3 separate regions of the Homo sapiens genome follow, and all the other regions are linked to region 2. The links are contacts of gene promoters, found by promoter capture Hi-C in blood cells and fetal thymus (Javierre and others, 2016). All regions are on one chromosome and are shown on one strand. Each heading gives the region's core, a stretch centred on a gene start or on the middle of the fragment in contact. The rest is flanking DNA. Distances are from core to core; before and after follow the strand shown.

Evidence for each region. The method cuts DNA at HindIII sites, captures the fragments that hold promoters and counts their contacts. A CHiCAGO score of 5 or more calls a contact.
Region 1: a fragment that was not itself captured here is called in contact with the fragment with the promoter of MPPE1 in region 2 in 3 of 17 cell types (naive CD8 T cells, total CD8 T cells and non-activated CD4 T cells); the score reaches 7.3 in naive CD8 T cells.
Region 3: a fragment that was not itself captured here is called in contact with the fragment with the promoter of MPPE1 in region 2 in 1 of 17 cell types (neutrophils); the score reaches 7.1 in neutrophils.

What each region holds. Positions count from the first base shown.
Region 1 is chr18:12,698,896-12,701,815 of GRCh38, reverse strand. It overlaps CEP76 (centrosomal protein 76), which reads left to right. Exons shown (of 12, transcript NM_024899.4): 2 at 703-858; 3 at 1,911-1,986; 4 at 2,613-2,837. It also overlaps a transcript of PSMG2 not described here. Among named protein-coding and RNA genes, the nearest start is that of CEP76, 2.4 kb to the left of the region's middle. The HindIII fragment of the contact is 2,094 bases long and covers 575-2,668 here.
Region 2 is chr18:11,906,754-11,909,956 of GRCh38, reverse strand. MPPE1 (metallophosphoesterase 1) reads left to right here and starts at 1,640. Exons shown (of 11, transcript NM_023075.6): 1 at 1,640-1,756. RefSeq lists a silencer at 848-1,247. The HindIII fragment of the contact is 5,797 bases long and covers 250-3,203 here.
Region 3 is chr18:12,886,550-12,889,679 of GRCh38, reverse strand. No RefSeq gene overlaps it. Among named protein-coding and RNA genes, the nearest start is that of PTPN2, 3.9 kb to the right of the region's middle. The HindIII fragment of the contact is 5,305 bases long and covers 1-3,130 here.

The DNA of each region.
Region 1 (2,920 bases), core at 372-2,871, 790 kb before region 2:
GGTATCAGCGAAGTTGAACCAGGAGCTTCAATCAGCAATTCTCAAATAAGTCATGGAAGAGAAGTTACTAAAGGGTTTGTAATGACGGAATTTGTTAATATTTCGGAGCTCCAGAAGAACCTCCAGTTTCTGCAGCGCTCGCTCGACTGAGTGCAAGATGCTGAAGTGATAAAAGCGACCATTTATGGTGCCCTTGTGTGCCAGGCTTTGTGCTGTCTAGTATCTTTAATCCTCACAACACTATCGTGAGAGGGCACTACACTAGGTTTTTCCATTCTTATCGGTGACGAAACAGATTTATAAAGGGTAAATAAGTTGGCTTGAGGTTACACATCTACTAAGTTGAAAGCTGGTAAGATTCCCTTATCATTAGGCAGATCAAAGTATGAAAGTAATAAGATCATACTTTGATCTGCCTACTCCCAGTCCGTGTTCTTCTGATTATACTATACTCCCTCTCAGAAGATTCCTTTTGGTTGAGTGTTGTTTGTGGAGAAATGGTAACAAAGGTGCCAGATAACCAGTGGAGACTATTTCTAGAATTTGTACTCAAAAGATTCATTCTTTAAAAGCTTACCTTTGTTCCCATTCAATTGTGGTAACAATTGTGCATTTACTGTTAGCTGGAGAACCTTAAAACTTCAGAAGCAGTATTTGACTGCTTTGTGATGTTATAAATTGTAATATGAGTTTTCTACATAGATGGATGTCCATGGTAGAATAAGAGAAATCCTTGCTGAGACTATACGGGAAGAATTGGCACCTGATCAACAGCATTTATCAACAGAAGATTTGATCAAAGCCCTTAGACGTCGAGGAATCATTGACGATGTGATGAAAGAACTTAATTTTGTTACTGTGAGTAATCTTTTAGGGAAATAAATGAGAGTATATATGTATATACTAATGCGTAACACTACTTATAAGGTTCCGATGTGGGGCCTTTCGTTTTAGTAAAACCACTTCAAGGTCATTCTGTTTACTAGTGTCCTTGTTTCAAGTATAGGCTAGCTCTGCCCTTGAATATACTGAATAGTTTTGTGTATCAATGAAATTTGTGTTAGATATCTTATTCCTGTCTCTACAGTGACAGAATTTTCTCTTATTTTCTAGGTCTGTAAATTTGAATATACATACTTTAGTCCAATTAGTTCACCATAACAAAGTTCTTTTTCATTATGATCTGTAACTTTTTTAGATTAAGCGTATTTTTAAAATAAGCACTCTTTTGGGATTATATTCTCTATGATTAACAAATTACAAATTTCTTTAAGAAAATAATTGACTGCATAAGAGTCCTCAAATCTTTTAATACAAATAGGTCAATAATGGGATGATAGTCTCTCAGTGCACAATTAGTAAGTAGGCCTTCATTTGAAAGTGAGGCAATAATGGAAACTGTGACCTCAATACCTGGGTAATATAATGTGAAAATTGGATGGACTTCATAATACAATAGGGAATAAGTATTTTAATACAGCACCTTTTTTTGGTTTTTGAAGTTTATGAACCCGTTTGTTATAAAAATTGACCTAATAACAGCTTCTACTCTGTGATGACACTTTATTAAAATCAGCTCATAGTGGAATTATAAGCCAACTGTTACATAAGGTTTACAGAAAGTTTAACCTTGTTGAAGGTATTAAGGATTTGTTTTTAGCTTTATGTGGATAGTATTACTTGAAGACAGTTTAATTCCTTAGCATTTGATTTTAGGAGTGATCAGTTTACATCATCTTTTATGCAGGCTTTTATTTTCATTATTTTAATTAGGCTAGGAAAATAAGGGGTTCTTTGAAAGGGCCTTACCCTGTTGACTTTAGGTTCAGTGCTTAGTCATGTTTATTGACATTTCCTTAACCTATAATTGTTTTCTAATTTGTTTTGATTTTTTTTTCCTGCCTTTCTAGGACAGTGTTGAGCAAGAACTCCCTTCCTCTCCAAAACAACCTATTTGTTTTGATAGACAATCGACATTAAAAAAAAGTATGTATATTTTAACATTAATTTAGTTGTGGTTAATAGTAAATATTGATGTGGTGTAGTCTTTCGTATTTGATAGAAGACATTTCCATTTTTTCCCCCCAAAATAAAATACTTAAAATTTTATGGTTGGCTAAAACAGATTGTTTTGCATGAAGTATATCAGAAGAGTTAATGTATAGCACGGTAGAAGCAAAAACAGCATCACCAGTTTCTTGTGTTTTAATAATATGTTTTATAAAAACTGTACAGCCTTGCTTTTAAATATTAATATAATTGACAAATACACTTGCTGAATTGATAATTATATGAGTTGGTTTGTGAAGGTGGAGGAATGTTGGATAAGCAGTTAAAAAGCAAAAGTATACTACATATTGGCTCTGATGCCTTTTCCAGCTGGGAGAAAGTAGCCTGGATGTAAACTCAGAAAAGAATATCATATTTTGTGTATCTTCTCCCCAGAGTGCAAATGATTCTGGCATATACAGTAATAAATTTGTTACTCTTTTGCTTTTTTTTTAGTCTTTGGTATTGGGTTTTTATCTGTCAAGTTTTTATTTCCTAATGTCTTGATCACATTCTTTTAAGTTATTTGGCAGTTTCCTCATATATATTGCTACACTTTACAGCTAATATTGATCCAACACGGAGGTATCTTTACCTTCAGGTTTTGGGTGGAAAAGCTTTCTTGGAACATCTGCAAGAACCTGAGCCTTTACCTGGACAAGTTTGTTCAACGTTTACTTTATGTTTACATTATCGAAACCAACGTTTTCGTTCTAAACCTGTTCCATGTGCCTGTGAACCAGATTTTCATGATGGCTTTTTACTTGAAGTACACAGAGAAAGCTTGGGTAAGAAACAGTAATAAATTGTCATTTAATTGAGTAAATCTTTGTTATGTTTTATTGTGAAACAATAATAATGACTTTTTCTG
Region 2 (3,203 bases), core at 391-2,890:
GTGTTGCCCAGCCTGGAGTGCAGTGGCTATTCACAGCTGTGATCATAGCTCACTACAGCCTTGAACTCTGGCCTTAAGCAATCCTCCCACTTCAGCCTCTGAACATTTATTTTTGAAAAAAGAAATTGGGTCATTTGGTTTGTAGAATTTCCCACATTCTGGATTTGGCAGATTACTTCCTGGTGGTGTAATCTAATGGGTTCATTTGGCCCCTGTATTTCCTTTAGCCTGTGATTAGTGTTATAAGCTTAACTGGTTCTAGTTTCCCTTTCTTTGTTAGTCAGAGAGAATACTTTAGAGGTGAGGCTGCAAACAATCCACGGTGCCATATTAGTGTGTTTATGGAATCAGGCTGTCCCAGTTTCGATTATGTCAAAGTTGTTCACCTGATCATATCTGAAGATATTACAATATTCTTAATAATAATAACCATTTACCGCATACTTATTGTATACCAGGCATTTTGCTGGCTGTGTCCTATATAATTCCTCAAACCACATCTCCGTGTATTAACCACACTCATAGATTTGTGAAAATGTACCAGAATTGACTGGTTGGAAGGCTCTATGTGGATTATTACTCTGAGCATGTTTACTTCTTGAAATATGAAATAATGGCTCCTGCTTTTAATATACAGGCTTATTTTGAGGATTTTTTGAACGGATGTGAGAGCACTTAGAAAACTGGAACGCGCCGCGCTACACCATTAAAATTAGTAACATCAGTGAGAAAAAAGCAAGTGCATAATAAATATTATAGTTATCCTGATTGTCTCCTTTATTCATCACACACTTCCTAAGCACATCTCTGGAGGGCACTTTCCAAGGCTCCGGGGGAGGAGAGGAAAGAGGCGCAGCCAGGCCTGGTGGGTCCCGGAGGGGCAGCGCGGCGCGGGAGGGGAACGGGGAGGCACGGCCTGGCTGCCACCGCGCGCGGAACCCGGGAGCGGCTCCGGGGCTGTCAGCTGCCCGCCTGGCTCCTCCAAGGCCTGGAGCTCGGACGCGGGCTCTGGGGGCTTCTGGGGCGCGGAAGCGGGCTCGCGGGGAGCAGTGGCCGCCCCCGGCCGCCGCGGTGGCTGTGCTCAGAAGCCGGCCCTGGCGTCAGGAGGCCGGGCGCGCGGCGCGGGGCGCGAGTTCCCCTGCCCGCCTGTGCGCCCCGCAACGGGCCTTTCCTGGGCCCTAACGACAGCTCGCCCGTGCTTCGCCCTCGCAGCTCTCCTGTGTCCCCAAAATGCCTTTCCCGCGTCCCCCGCCCTTCAGCGGTGACTGCCCAGGGGACTCTGTAACGCGACACTCAGACTGCCGAGCCTGCCAGGCACTTCGCGGAGGGCGCTAGGGGCCGGGACGCGGCCGCCGAGCGTAGGTTCCGGCCTTTACTCCGAGTTGCGCACGGAGCCCCAGCTGCGGTTGTCCGCTCTGGGGATCACAGGCCGCGGAGACCCGGGAGCCACCCGCCGGGCCCCTTCAGACGACCCGCTTCCGCAAACCGGCCGTGGGACTCCGGCGCCGGGCGGACGAAGCGGCTCCGGGAAGACTCGGTCTTCCCCGCCCGCCTGAGGTCGCCGGGGCGGGGCTTCAGTGACAGGCCCGCGCGCTACCGCGGAAACAGGAAGTTGGCTGGGTGCGCGCCGGCTCCGGCTGCAGTTCCCGGGTCCCTCGGCCACCGAAGCCACCCTGCCCTGGTGAAAGGGCTCCCGCACCGCCCGGTGCTCCCCATCTGCCTGGCGTTGTGCGCAGAGCTGGAAAGCATGGCTGTTGTATGTATTCTTGCGCCCGTGTGACAACATTTAAACTTCTAAAAACGGAACCTCCTTCCGTGTTAGGATTGCAAGTTAACCTAGGAAAAACAGCATTCTGCAAATTATTTGCTGGAAAATCTCGGTGACTTAAGGCCCATGTATTACTTTGCAGGGGTCTCTCACTCTAGTTTGCTGGTGTAGATTTTTTAAAAAATCCATCTTATCAAAAAATACCGTTTAAGGTGGAAAATTTCAAATGCAAGTCGCAGTTGATGAGATTGCAATTAATATATTTAAGATAGTGAATTAGAGAAAAACTACAGGTCAGTGCATATTAAGTATTTTTTTCATATTTTGGGGGGATTAGATTTTTAACGATAACTTTGAAGTTAAAAATTAAAAGATAGGCTGGGTGCCGTTGCTTAGGCCTGTAATTCCAGCACTCTGGGACGCTGAAGTGGGAGGATGGCTTGATCCCAGAGATGCGAGACCAGCCTGGGCAACATAGCAAGTCCCCCGCCCCCACCATAACAACAAAAGTACCAAAAAAAAAAAAAAAAAAAGCCAGGTGTAGTGGCACGCACCTGAAGTCCCTGCTACTCGAGAAGTTGTGGGGGAAAGGATCGCTTCAGCGCAGGAGTTTGGGGCTGCAGCGAGCTGTGACGCAGCCTGCGGTTGACAAAAAGTCAAAACTCTATAAAATATTTGAAGGGATTAATTCTGAGCCAAATATGAGTGACCATGGCTGGTGACACAGCCATTTGGAGACCCTGAGAACGCGTACGCAAGGTGGTCGGGGCCCAGTGTGGTTTTATGCATTTTAGGGGAGCCATGAGTCATCAGTCAAATACATGTAAGATTAAGATGTACATTGGTTCGGTCCATAAAGGTATGACAGCTGAGGAGGTGGGTGGGTCGGGGGTTTCCGGGTTATAGGTAGATTGAAAATTTTCTGATTGGCATTTGGTTGAAAGATTTATTATCAATGGAAAGGAATGTTTGGGTTACAATAAGAGGCTGTGGAGACTGAAGTTTTATCATGCAGATGAAGCCTCCAGGTAAGTTAAGTGTCCAGCATGTTAAATGCTGGTCTGCTTTTCCTGAATTCTAAAAGGGAGGAGGATGAAATGTGTCAAGTTCCACCCCCACTTCCCATCATGGCCTAAACAAGTTTTGCTTAAAACAACCTAAAACAAGGTTAACTCTGGAATGCCCTTGGTGGGGTCCATGCAGATGGTTGAGGGGTCTTAGGATTTCATTTTTGATTTACAATGGGCGGTGGAGTGAGACCCTATCTCTAAAAATAAATAAATAAATAAATACAAATTGAAAAGTTCAAAGATAAATTTTTTTTTTTTTTTTTTGAGACGGAGTTTCGCTCTTGTTGCCCAGGCTGGAGTGCAATGGCGCGATCTCGGCTCACTACAACCTCCGCCTCCCGCATTCAAGCGATTCTCCTGCCTCA
Region 3 (3,130 bases), core at 416-2,915, 980 kb before region 2:
GTGGATGAAGCTGAATAAATATTAGGATTTTTTGTTTGATACATTAATTGCATTTGGTCCAAACCTAGGCAGCAGATATACTTTGTGGCTCCAAAATATGGAATGAGTGAATCCCCATCTTGATCCTATGTGGCTCATATCTATCACTTTGTAATTGCTGGCAATTTTAGAGAATTTAGGTGCATTATGTGGCTTTGAAGCCATATACAGTCTTTTGCTATATTCACTAGGTGATGGTAGTTTATGAAATACTGTGTAAGATAATGTGCCTGGTTTCCATTTCTAAATGAAATACCGTTTATTTTTATTTAAATTAAAAAAGTTTTCACTCGAGTGAGGAATTTTTTAGTTTTATTGAGGTTAGCATACATATAATAAAGTCCAAAAAATCTTAAATGTGGAGCTCAATGACATTTTATACACACATGTACAAATACGTGTATATTATACACAACAGTGTACCACCAACCAAATCAAGATATGGAATATTTCCAGGACCCCTGAAGATTCTCTCATGCTTCTTCCCAGGCAACACCCCCACCCTACCAGAGGCAGCCCCCAGCTGCCTCCAGAGGTAATCACTATTCTGTTGTCTATTTTTGAACTTCATATAAAATGGAAACATATAGTTATGCTCTTTTGGATGTAGCACCATTTATTGAAGACACATTACTTTAAGCCTTTGTGAAATACACACACACAAAGATACACACCGGATGACTATATGTGTGAACCTGTTTCTGGACTTTGTTTAGTTCCACTGGTCAGCTTGCCTTGGTCAGCTTGCCTTTCCTTGCGTCGATACCACATATCTTTATAAGAGATCTTGATATCTGGAGGGATAATGTCTTCCAGATCTGTTCTTCTTGGCTACTTTTGGCCCTTGAGTTCTTCTTTAGACTCTATTCTGTTCCATTCTTCTATTTGTCTATCTTCACACTAAGAACACGCTGTTTTAATTATCGTAGCTTTAGAGTAAATCTTATTATCTGGTGAGGTAAAACTTCCATTTTCTTCTTCCTTAAGATTATTTTGGCTATTCTTGGCCCCTTGCATTTTTATTTGTAAATGGTAGCATCAGCTTGTCAATTTCCACTACAAAAATATGGTGAGATTTTGATTGAGATTGCACTGAATTCATACATGACTTTGAGAAGCACTGGCAACTTTACAATACTAAAGTTTCCAAGACATTACATCGTATATCCTTCCATTTATTTAGCTCTTCTTTCATTCCTCTGAGTGATATGTTGTGGTTTTCAGACTAGAGGTTTTGCTAATCTTTTGTTAAGAATTTTTCGGAATAGTTTATATTCCAATGTTTAAAAATTTTCTAGTTGCTGTTGCTATGTAGAAATACAACTGCTTTTTCTGCCGGGCGCAGTGGCTCACACCTGTAATCCCAGCACTTTGGGAGGCCAAGGTGGGCGGATCACGAGGTCAGGAGATCAAGACTATACTGGCTAACACGGTGAAACCCCATCTCTACTAAAAAATTAGCCAGGCGTGGTGGCGGGCACCTGTATTCCCAACTACTTGGGAGGCTGAGGCGGGAGAATGGCGTGAACCCAGGAGGCAGAGGTTGCAATGAGCTGAGATTGCACCGCTGCACTCCAGCCTGGGCGACAGAGTGACTCCATCAAAAAAAAAAAAAAAAATACAACTGCTTTTTCTTATATTGACTTTGTTTTCAAAGACATCTCTAAATTCAATTTTTTTTTCTAATTTTTTTATTTTTAGAGATGGAGTCTCACTATGTTACCCAGGCTGGTCTCCAACTACTGGCCTCAAGTGATCCTCCCACTTTGACTTCCCAAAGTGCTCGGATTACAGGTGTGAGCCACTGCACCTAGCCTAAATTCACTTATTAATCTAATAGTTGACCTGTAGATTACTTTGGATTTTCTATGTGTACAATATATTGGCTATAATATCAACTTTGTTTCATCCTTTCCAATCATTATACCACTTCTTAATTTTCCTCACTTGTTGCTATAACTATACAGTATAGAACAGAAGTGATGATAGTGGCCATCCTTATCCTGTGTCCAAGCTCAAGTGCGGGTGCAATCACTCAGAAAACTGTTCAGCAGTGTATGATGAACATATAGATACACTGCAATCCAGCAATCCCACTCCTAGACATATGCCCACAAGAAATGAGTGTATGTCTACCAAAAGACAAGGACAAACATGTCCTTAATGGTTCTCTTCATGAGAAGGCCAAACTGGAAACAACCAAATTCAGAACAAATAAATGGTAGTAGACTCAAACAATCATATGCTATTTAGCAGCAAGAATGAACAAACTATTCCTACAACGTGGATGACTCTCACTAACTTGAGCAAAAGCAGTCAGACATTAAAAAGCACATATTATATAATTAAACAAAGTTCAAAAAAGGCAAAACTAATCTACGGTGTTAGAGGGCTTGGGGCTGGTTACTCAAGGGGGAGGATTTAGGATGGCGCTCCAGGGGCTTTCTGGAGGAGAGATAAATTTCCTGTTCTTGGCCTGAGTATTGATAGACAGCTATGTTCACTCTGTAAAAACTCCCTGAGCTATGCACTTGTGATTTGTGTGCATTTTTGTGTATATTTCAATTAAAAGTTTATTAAAAACTACATATATTTAACTGAAGTTCATTCTCACTGTAATCTGTACAATCTGAATTTGTATAACAAATGTCTGCCCAGCTCTATAAATGTACAGCTCTTGTAGACACCAGGCTTTTAGGCTGTATTTTGATATGCTTGTGCCTCTGAAGTTCTAGCTATAAGGGTAGTCTGTTTGTGCTGCTATAATGAAATAGCTGCAACTGTGTCATTTGCAAATAACAGAAATTTATTTCTCACAGTTCTGAAGGCTGAGAAGTCCAAGGTCAAGGCACCAGCAGGTTTGGTGTCTGCTGAAGGCCCATTCCTCATGGTGCCACCTAGGGGCCTTCACATGGCAGGACAGAAGGGCAAAAACGGCCCAAGCTAATTCCCTCCAGTCCTTTTATGAGGCACTAATCAAATTCATGAGAGCAGAACCCTCATAACTTAATCACTTCCCCAAATGCCAACCTCTTAATACTGCCACCATGAGGATAAAGTTTCAACGTGAATTTTGGAGGGGACACCATTA